Regions from separate parts of the Homo sapiens genome. Here regions 2, 3 and 4 are each linked to region 1. The links are contacts of gene promoters, found by promoter capture Hi-C in blood cells and fetal thymus (Javierre and others, 2016). All regions are on one chromosome and are shown on one strand. The core of a region is centred on a gene start or on the middle of the fragment in contact, and the rest is flanking DNA. Distances in the headings are between cores, read along the strand shown.

Region 1 (2,584 bases), core at 64-2,563:
ACCACCACCACCACCACCACCACCACAAAAAACCAATCTGTGGTCCTGCATGGAAGAATAATCTTACTCCTGCTCAAAGCCTGCCGAAGAGATTTACTCGGCTCCCATTTTGGATATGCTACTGTTGGATATCTTTGCACCGCGGTCTCCTCATCTGCATAATGGAGTTATAAAATCAACTTCACAGCACTGTGGATTAACTAAGAAAACGTATTTGAATGCCCCCCGTAAGGTGCTCAGCACGTAGTTGGCCCTCAATACACACTGGTACAATTCAAACTTTGTGAAATGAGCCAATTCGTGTACATGTTAAGGACCACGGCAGCAACTCATATCACTAAAAGTTAACTGATGCCCAACCCATGCCCCTTCCTGCTTCACTCCTCCACACCACGGGAGATTCCTTAGGGCAGAACTTTTATTTCGGCAGAGTGCAGCCAAGGGAAGACAGCATAAGCAGCTTTTTTGCCAGGGCGAAGGGGCCAGACCCCGGCCTGGGGATGGGGTGCAAGTATGGACCACACAGGGGCTGGCTTGGTCACTCACGGCTGCGTCAGGCTGTCCCGGTAACGGCTGCGCTGGCAGGGCAGTGCTCGGGGCCGGCTGGTGTAGGTGTAGGTGCTCGGGGCCCGAGAGGTGCGATCAGTCAGCGCTGAGGCCATGTCCGGGGGCTGACTGCCTCGCTTTCGGTGGAGCTTGGCTTTGAAGCAGGTGGGCGCTAAGGTGTTGTGGGACCCGGAGAGATGTAAGTAGTGCCAAGGGCAAGGATTCCGCGACGCGAGGAGAGGCGACAACAAGGGAGGCGGGCGGGACGGGAGGTTACCAGCGCAGGAGGTGGGAGCTATACTGGGCTCGCTCCCAGCACCACAGAGACCAGCTGCGGGGGCCGCATCGGTTGCCCAGCAACCCAGGGTTCTGTCTGGGGGCGGGAACTCCGGGCAGTTCCGGTCCCCAGGTTTCCCGGGAAGGACTGCGGCACAAGGGACTTCCGGCTCTTGACTCCGCCCAGCCGCGCCACCCAGGTAGGTGCGCCTGCGCTTTGCGAGGTTCCTGGCTAGGGAGGCGGCCTTGGCTGGCTTGACCGTCATCCTTGAGGCCTGCGGGGCAACGGTGGCTGTCCTTGGCCCGGCTTTGGAATGTGGCTTTGCAGGGCTGGTGTTGGCGCCATTCTCGCAGGCCCACGTGCTCCTGCTCTTCCAGGGTGTCCTCGGCTGTTTCTCCTGCCGCGGCGCAGCAGCGCTCCCAGGCTGCCCCCGCGATAACACGCCCCTGGCAGCCAGGCTCCCAGCTCTGTTACGTGCCCGGGCGGGGAAGAGCTTCCTGGTGTCTCCCGGCTCCTGCCCTTCTCCCGCCCCAGGGGCGGGCTGCCGCCGCCCTCTGCAGCTGAGTCAGTGCAGTTCCTCACCTACCTTCTCTGCTCACCGCTGTGTGCTAGCAATCGGAGGACCCTTGGCACACGGAGCGACAGGGGCCTCCCCCACAGACACCTCATTTTGGGAAAGAAGTGAGCAATTTATTGAGTCTTAAAAAATACAAAGGCATAGTTCCCCTTAATCTATCAGGCTTCCAGCTCTAAAGAATGTCTCTAGTATTGCGGGGTGGGGCTGCGCTTAAAAACGCAGACGCTTTGGTTTTAGTACCAGCAACGTTAAAAATCTTCTATCTTGTATGAGTGAATGTGTATCCCTTGTGATCAGTTATTTGCATTTGCAGTTACACCTTCATTCAGCTAATTGCTGTCTTGATTTGAATCCAGGTTCTAGAATGTACTAGCTCCGAAACCTCAGGCAAGTTAAATGTTTTTGTGCTTCATTTTCCTAATCCACAAAGTGGCAATAGAAGAATTTATCTCTTTAGGTTTTGTCTTGAGGATTAAAACCGTTAATACTTAGAGCTGTGCCTGGTAAATGGCAAGCCTTTATATTAAGATCTGGACCGTTCTGTGCTTTGAAGTGTATGACCTAAAGCAGATGTAGGCATTCTATAAGTAACACTAGCATAAAGGTGTATGGTAAATTCTAGAGGTGAAAACACTCCCAACATATTTTAGGTCTGATCATTTAATTTTGAGGTAATTTCTGAAAGGGCTAGAGGAGAAAGTGACATTTAAGTTGTGTTTGATAAATGATAGTATTTTAACTGGCCAGCCTCTTGGGGGAAGTGCATTCGGAATGGCTTGATCAAAGGCTCAAGAAGCCCAAGGTGCATTTGGAAAACTGTAAGCAAGGTTTGTGTAGATGAGTTGTAGAAATATATATAGACAGGCTGACACCACATCGTGGAAACAGTAAACACTAGCATATTAATTAGAATATTTTTTCCCTCAAGTAACAAAAAACCAATTCCAAGTGGCTGAAATAATAAGGAATTCATTATTTTACACTCCCCAGGTTGGTTAACCTGGAGGGTAACTTGGGGGCTCAGCACATTATCAACAACACGTTTTTTCCCCTACCTTTCCACTCTGTCACCTGGGTTGTTGGCTTCAACAAAGTAGTAATAGAAGTATCTGCTCTTTTGTCTTTATTGGAAGAGCAAAACCCCCTCGTAAACTCCCAACTGACCAGAATTACATCATATTGAT
Region 2 (2,584 bases), core at 35-2,534, 800 kb before region 1:
GTCAAAAAACATTTTTTTTTTAGACGGAGTCTTGCTGTCTCCCAGGCTGGAGTGCAGTGGCACGATCTTGGCTCACTGCAAGCTCCGCCTCCCGGGTTCACGCCATTCTCCTGCCTCAGCCTCCCAAGTAGCTGGGACTACAGGCACCCACCACCACACCCGGCTAGTTTTTTGTATTTTTAGTAGAGACGGGGTTTCACCGTGTTAGCCAGGATGGTCTCGATCTCCTTACCTCATGATCCACCCGCCTTGGCCTCCCAAAGTGCTGGGATTACAGGCGTGAGGCACCACGCCCAGCCTCAAAAAAAATTTTAAAAGCTAATGACAATCTTCACTTTTTTAAAGAATATAAAAAGAGTTTTGGCTGGGCGTGGTGGCTCACGCCTGTAATCCCAGCACTTTGGGAGGCCAAGGCAGGCAGATCACGAGGTCAGGAGATCGAGACCATCTTGGCTGACACGGCGAAACCCCGTCTCTACTAAAAATACAAAAAACTAGCCGGGCGTGGTGGCGGGCACCTGTAGTCTCAGCTACTTGGGAGGCTGAGATAGGAGAATGGCATGAACCCGGGAGGCAGAGCTTGCAGTATGCAGAGATCACGCCACTGCACTCCAACCCGGGCAACAGAGCAAGACTGTCTCAAAAAAAAAAAAAAAAAAAAAGAGTTCTACTCCCTATCCCAATGAGATCACACTGCTTTGACACTTGCCTTTTCCCTTAATTTTTCATGCTCCTTTATGAAAAACCTGAAGCAGGATTTCTATTTCAGAGGAAAGTTTTTTTTTCTGATTTTAGATGGGGAGCTTTCTAAAAATGTTGATGCCTGGCCTCAGCCCCCAGTCATTCAAATTTAGTTGTTCTGGGATATGACCCAAGCGTCAGCATCTTTAAAAGGCCTGCCTGGTGCTTCTGCTGTGCATTCAGAGCTGAGAACTCCTGGGCCGGTGTGTGCACAATGGAGACTCTGGGTAGGAGGTTTTGTTTTTGGGTTTCGTTCGGTTTCCAGTAGGCTAATCTACCAGCACAGCTGTTTCCTTTTACTGCCAAGGAAATGCTGAGTCTGCCCAGCAAGGAACCAGCTTTTGTTAAAATTCACTAATTAGATAACTGATTCCCCAAGTCGTTGCAGGATCTTATTTATTGACAGTAGCTAGCTTGAGTTGGATCCTTTGGTTAGACGGAGGAAAGTCATTGCAGCACTCATAATTGGTTAAGTTTTTTTTTTTTAAACATAAATTCACTAAGATATTTTAGTCTTGTGTTTATTTACTGTTTACCATGCTTTTGTGTGTGTGTGTGTGTGTGTGTGTGTGTGTGTGTGTGTGTGTGTGAAACAAACTCTTAAGCTATGTCAGCATATCCTTTCTCAGGCAGAGTCTTTCGGAGGTAGATGTCTAATTCAGTATTAACTGGTTTACCTAGCTCTCATCACTCCTCCGGCTCCCTCAAGCCCTCAGTAACATCTGCACTTACATAAGGTATTTGGATGTGTGACTTATATTTTATTAAATTAAGGACAGAAGTTGAGTTTGACACACAAAAACAGGGAGAGCAGAGGCAGGTCCGTGAGAGATAAACAAACACAACTAATTTAGTGACATGAAGAATTCACAGAAATCTTGGAAGGTTTTGAACTTCTGTGGACATGGAATGGAAGGGTTAGTCTTATGTCAGTTTTATCAAACACATTAAATCTGCCGGGCGCGGTGGCTCATGCCTATAATCCCAGCACTTCGGGGGGCCAAGGCGGGTGGATCACGAGGTCAGGGGTTCGAGACCAGCCTGACCAACATGGTGAAACCCCGTCTCTACTAAAAATACAAAAAAATTAGCTGGGCGTGGTAGCGGGCACCTGTAATCCCAGCTACTCAGGAGGCTGAGGCAGGAGAATTGCTTGAACCCGGGAGGCGGAGGTTGCAGTGAGCCGAGATCGTGCCACTGCACTCCAGCCTGGGCAACAGAGAAAAAAACAAACAAAAAAAAACACATTAAATCAGGTGCTATTTGCAGCTGTAATTTGTAACTATTGCACTTTGGATATGGTAGTAGAAGCTACCATGTCTAAAAGTAAATGTTCTATGAGTGTTTAAACCTCTAACTATGACTATACTGGGCAATTGGTCCAAAAGCCACTCTGAAAATTTTCCAGCATAAAGTTGTTATGGTCTTGACTGAGGCAGATATGCCTTTGAGGGCTTCTTAGTCTATATCAGTGCTTTTCAACTTTAAAGTACTTACAAATCATCTGGAAGTCCTTAGAATGCAGATTCCGATTAAGTGGGTGTGGGCTGGGGCCTGAGATTCTGCATTTCTAGAAGGCTTCCAGGGGATGGCAGTGCTGCTGTCTGGCAGGTCACATTTTGAGTAGCTAAGCTCAAACACCCAAAGTGATGGTGTCATAGAGAAATAGAAGTTAAAGAAAAATGTTTAGGCCGGACGCAGTGGCTCAACCCTGTAATCCCAGCATTTTGGGAGGCCAAGGCAGGGGATCACCCGAGCTCAGGAGCTCAAGACCAGCCTGGGCAACATGGCGAAACCCCATCTCTACTAAAAATACAAAAAATTAGCCAGGCGTTGTGGTGCA
Region 3 (2,584 bases), core at 27-2,526, 770 kb before region 1:
TATCCCCAGGCTGGAGTGCAGTAGCACTATCTTAGCTCACTGCAACCTCCGCCTCCCGGGTTGAAGTGATTCTCCTGCCTCAGCCTCCTGAGTAGCTGGGATTACAGGCGTGCGTCACCACACCCAGCTAATTTTTATATTTTTAGTAAAGACGAGGTTTCACTATGTTGGCCAGTCTGGTCTCAAACTCCTGACCTCAGGTGATCCACCAACCTTGGTCTCCCAAAGTGCTGGGATTACAGATGTGAGCCACTGCTTCTGGCCCCAAGTCAATGCCTTTTGAACTGTCCACCATCCTGCTTAAAGAAAGTGTGGGCGAGGTGCAGCAGCTCCCACCTGTAATTCCAATACTCTGGGAGGCCGAGGTGGGTGGATTGCTTGAGCCCAGGAGTTTGAGACCAACCTGGGCAACATAGTGAGACCCCCCCCTTTTTTTTTTTTTTTTTGAGACAGAGTCTTGCTCTGTCGCCCAGGCTGGAGTGCAGTGGCGCAATCTCGGCTCACTGCAAGCTCCGCCTCCTAGGTTCACGCCATTCTCCTGTCTCAGCCTCCCGTGTAGCTGGGACCACAGGCACCTGCCACCATGCCCAGCTAATTTTTTTGTATTTTTAGTAGAGACGGGGTTTCACTACTGTTAGCCAGGATGGTGAGACCCCCATCTTTACAAAAAATAAAAAAATTAGCCAGGTGTGGTGGCATGCACCTGTGGTCCCACTACTCAGGAGGCTGCAGCAGGAGGATCATCTGAGCCTGGAGAGGTTGAGGCTGCAGCGAGCTGTAATCACGACACTGCACTCCAGCCAGGACAATAGAGCAAGACCTTGTCTCAAAAAAAAAAAAAAAAAAGAAAATGTGTACCCAACGATGTGCATCTACTGAGAGTCTGCTCAGAATTCAGGGCCCTAAAGGACCACCTCAGCAATGAAAGGATCGGGAGGAAGGAGAGTGGCGCTTCAAGTGTGTACAAAGTACCGCAGCCCGCTCACCTCTTCCCTTCTCCCGAATGGGGGAAGCAGACAAGGACAAAAGCTCTCTTTTCTTGTAAGCCATCTTCTCCTTTCCAGAGTGAACCAAGCAGGCCTTTTGGTTCTAGATCTTGGTCCAGGTATTACTTTGCTCTGGGAGGCTCTGAGCAGGCTGGGAAGGGGACGAGTTAGCTGATTAGAGCCTCGAGCCTTTAAGGCAGAGGGTGAGTAGGACCCCGGGTTGCATTCTGTGTGTCCAGGCCAGGCCATCAGAGTCAAAAGATAGAAGTGGGTGGGCTAAGGCTACTTTGCAAGGCCACACACCTCCCTGGCGACTGCCCTAGCAGAGGCCCTTCCTTTTCTGATCCAAAGCCCCTTCATAGGTTCCCACACACTTGTTCTCATTTGGACACTGCCTGGTTTAAAGTAGAAGCTCAATAAATAATCAAAAGGGAACAACCGGGCCGGGCATGATGGCTCACACCTGTAATCCCAGCATTTTGGGGGTCCGAGGCGGGTGGATCACGAGGTCAAGAGATCCAGACCATCTGGCCAACATGGTGAAACCCCGTCTCTACTAAAAATACAAAAATTGGCTGGGCATGGTGGTATGCACCTGTAGTCCCAGCTACTTGGGAAGCTGAGGCAGGAGAATCACTAGAACCCGGGAGGCGGAGGTTGCAGTGAGCCGAGATCGCGCCACTGAACTCCAGCCTGGCGACAGAGCAAGACTCCGTCTCAAAAACAAAAAACAAAAAACAAAAAAAAAAGGAACAACCCTCCCATACAATTGCTCTCAATGGGACAAAGTTCACCAGCAGAGGCTTGTAAGTGTGTTTCTTCCCAGGTTAAACATTCTTATTTTCTTCTTCAGGTGTTTATAAAACTGTATGACATTGTAAGACAGCTTCTGGAGTCCTCACCATCCTGGCCACCCTCAAAGGATGTGCTGCAACTCATCACTGTTTCTTCACGTGTGGCTGTGGTGGCCTCCAGAACTGCAGGACAGTCTGCAGGTGGCATGGCTGAGCGGAGCACAGCGGGGCTACAGCGTTTCACCTGGTGCCGGACGCTGGGTTTCCAGTGATGAAGCCTCAGCTGGTGCTGGCATTTTTGGCTCTCAGGACACCTCGAAAGGGGAGGGGCTTGCATCTTATTCTTCAAAAGCTCTGACTCCTCCGCCATCTCCTTATGTCCAGGATCCAGTTTCCCTATCCCTGTGCTGAGTGTCTTGGTGGCTGAAGGGCTTGAGACAGCAGAAACTTTGGACTCTGAGTTATGTCGCAGCCAAGAAGGAGGGGAGTTGCCCAGCAGGCTGCTTGGTGACAGGGAGGCAGGGAAGAGGCCTGCAAGAAGAGCTGCTGGAGCTTCATTGTCTGGATGTCTTAGAGGAACATGATGGCCAAGGAGGGGTGCAAAGAAGTGTGGAGAGAAGGGAAGGGAACAGAGGCCAACCCAGGTGCCTGGCTGGCTGTGACTATGGATCCCTTGTGCCCCCAGGCCCAGCCTTAGGGTAGGACAGTGGTGATTAACCACCGCCAGGAGCACAGCCACGTTTTAATAAGTGGTCAAGATACACTGTTACCAGAATGCCTATCAGATTCAGTTGGGCTCTGAGC
Region 4 (2,584 bases), core at 1-2,500, 700 kb after region 1:
AAGAGAAATTATATTTACTATTCATTAAGCAGAAGTGGATCATCATAAAGGTCTTCATCCTCCTCATCTTTATGGTGAGTAGGCTGAGGAAGAGAGGTTGATCTTGCTGTCTGGGGGGTGGGGGGCGGGGGTGGAGGCAGAAGAAAATCTACATAGAAGTGGACCCATGCAGTTCAAACCCATGTTGTTCAAGGGTCAAGTGTATTGCTGTTAAACCTGTGTAGCTCCGTGCCTTTAAACAGCTGCCACTCCCTCTCCCACATTTTTCACACCCAAAAGAATTGGGCCCAGCCTTATCTAATTGGAGCCCAAGATTTGAAACTTTCTTCCTCCTTCTGTCCCTACACAACTTCCCAACTTATCCCTATCTCCTCAAATCCTGATTGGCCTGCTGTCCCATCTCTTACACGACTCTGGTCATCACTCTTGGACCTAAAGCTTGACATTGCTTCTATGCCCTGACCTTGGTCCATCTGCCCCTTAGATGGCATTTGCTTTGTAGCCTCAGTGAAGACCCAGCTTCCTGGAGTTTCCCTTCACAATGGCCCAGCTCATTCTTCCCAACCTAGTCTAGTGAAAGACTCAGACTTGCTGGGGACCCAGGAGGCCAAAAGAGAAGGGTTGTCCCATATTGAGAGTCCGGCAGAGCCCTCCATAAGATCCTTTCATGAGGACTTCCTGCAACATCCTGCCTCCTTTATGGAAATGGACACCACCTCTTCCCCATTACTACTCCACGAGAAAAAAAAAAACAAACATGGTCACTGCATTCTATGTAAGGGTGGGATCTGTCATTATTAAACTGCCAACTTCTAGTTCATATCCCAGGATTTGTCATGGAGTAAGATTGATTTCAGGTGCACAGTTCCAAGAATGACTCTCAAGGGCTACTCAAGCTACTAAAGAGTAGCCCAGACCACTGAGGGCTGTGAGCAAGCATAAGGATCTTGGCTGGCTGAATCTCTGGGCCAGCACAACCCAGGGGCTGCACTCCACACTGTACATCTACTCGGAGCAGCCAAAATAGGTACACAGGAGGAGTGGCCTCGCATACCACCCAGGTCCATGCCAGATTGTGGTCCACTGAGAACAGTATTGATATCACAGTATTTCTGGGAACCTATGTCCCATCTCAGGCAACTCCCAGGACTCAATCCATCTTGGCCTGCATCACCCTCCTCTCGTGCCAGCTTACATCTGCATTTACCCTCTGGTGAGAAATTAGATAAAATCGCATAAAATAAAACTTCATTTTCATGCTAAAGATATTTAGTTTGAGGAACTAGTCAGCTATATGTTGGTACACTAGAGGTGAGCCACTAAAAATGATCACTGTTCAGTTAGATGTGGACAAAACATATTTAAGAGTGGGACAATTATTAAACATTTAAGGGATCAGATTGGTTTCCAGGTGTCTTTAAATGCCACTCCACTTTAGAGAATTAATGGAAATTAGAGACAACACATTACTAGTGTGGTGATGCAGTAGCTCCAGTAATTTTCTGGTTCTTCATCTGAATTCATTTACATGGTTTAAGTTAAAATGCATTGTTGGCCAGGCGCGGTGGCTCACGCCTGTAATCCGAGCACTTTGGGAGGCCGAGGTGGGTGGATCACAAGGTCAGGCGATCGAGACCATCCTGGCTGACACAGCAAAACCCCATCTCCACTAAAAATACAAAAAATTAGCTGGGTGTGGTGGCAGGCGCCTGTAGTCCCAGCTACTCGGGAGGCTGAGGCAGGAGAATGGCATGAACCCAGGAGGCAGAGCTTGCAGTAAGCCAAGATTGCGTCACTGCACTCCAGTCTTGGTGACGTGCGAGACTCTGTCTCAAAAAAAAAAAAAAAAAATCAATGCATTGTTAACATGTGTGGCATGTTTTCCAACTCCCATTTTTTTGATGGCATGGATAAGACTTAGTCTCTAAGTACTAAATGAAGAACAAATATCTCTCTGAGTGCACTTTGAAAGTAATGCTTAAATGTCTGGTCTCTGGGACATAACATCTATCTTTGTTAAACTCTGACTTTTTACTGACCTGATTTTCATTTAGGTTCAGTCTAAGCTTTCCAAATCAAGCAGAGACCTAATTTTCTTAAGCTTCCCTGGAACACAATGTAGGATCTCGGCTTTTAGACTGAACTCTAGGAGACACAAATTCTCAGTGATGGGGTGGTCTCCAAAACCATGAGAAGGAGTCCACTTAAAGCAACTGTCAGGCAAGACAATATGTAAGATTTCCCTGTATTCCACCCACATGCCACCACTGTGAGCAATATAAATATAACCCCACACCTGCTTCCTCTCCAGGCCAATCCCTGGAGATTTGAGAAACCATGGTTAGCATGCTCAAAGATGAGCAGCAGCAGCAGAAGGCAAGACGCTAGAGAAGGCACCTGCCAGCTGCCAACATCTTTCTCCCTCTGTAGGCTGCTGGCCTGCTAGAGGCCTGTGATGAAGTTTTGACTTTAAATCACTTTCAGAGTTTTGCTTCTCACATGGGAGCATTTTGGATAGTGAATTGAGCCTGTGTTCTAACTTAAAGTGATTATAAGACTTTTTATTACTAAAGAACATATATTT

The links. The method cuts DNA at HindIII sites, captures the fragments that hold promoters and counts their contacts. A CHiCAGO score of 5 or more calls a contact.
Region 2: a contact is called between a fragment that was not itself captured here and the fragment with the promoter of RSPH3 in region 1, in 2 of 17 cell types (naive CD8 T cells and total B cells). The highest score is 8.4, in naive CD8 T cells.
Region 3: a fragment that was not itself captured here is called in contact with the fragment with the promoter of RSPH3 in region 1 in 2 of 17 cell types (fetal thymus and naive CD8 T cells); the score reaches 5.9 in fetal thymus.
Region 4: a contact is called between a fragment that was not itself captured here and the fragment with the promoter of RSPH3 in region 1, in 1 of 17 cell types (M0 macrophages). The highest score is 5.1, in M0 macrophages.

The regions. Positions count from the first base shown.
Region 1 is chr6:158,998,889-159,001,472 of GRCh38, forward strand. It overlaps RSPH3 (radial spoke head 3), which reads right to left and starts at 1,314. Exons shown (of 8, transcript NM_031924.8): 1 at 547-1,314. The coding sequence starts at 662. It overlaps TAGAP-AS1 (TAGAP antisense RNA 1), which reads left to right and starts at 985. Exons shown (of 5, transcript NR_183546.1): 1 at 985-1,504. RefSeq lists enhancers at 57-1,028, 513-662, 683-732, 763-832, 1,003-1,162 and 2 more. The HindIII fragment of the contact is 7,152 bases long and covers 1-2,584 here.
Region 2 is chr6:158,200,081-158,202,664 of GRCh38, forward strand. No RefSeq gene overlaps it. Among named protein-coding and RNA genes, the nearest start is that of GTF2H5, 33 kb to the left of the region's middle. The HindIII fragment of the contact is 7,369 bases long and covers 1-2,584 here.
Region 3 is chr6:158,224,823-158,227,406 of GRCh38, forward strand. No RefSeq gene overlaps it. Among named protein-coding and RNA genes, the nearest start is that of GTF2H5, 58 kb to the left of the region's middle. The HindIII fragment of the contact is 2,829 bases long and covers 1-2,584 here.
Region 4 is chr6:159,698,820-159,701,403 of GRCh38, forward strand. It overlaps a transcript of SOD2 not described here. Among named protein-coding and RNA genes, the nearest start is that of SOD2, 6.9 kb to the left of the region's middle. The HindIII fragment of the contact is 1,628 bases long and covers 437-2,064 here.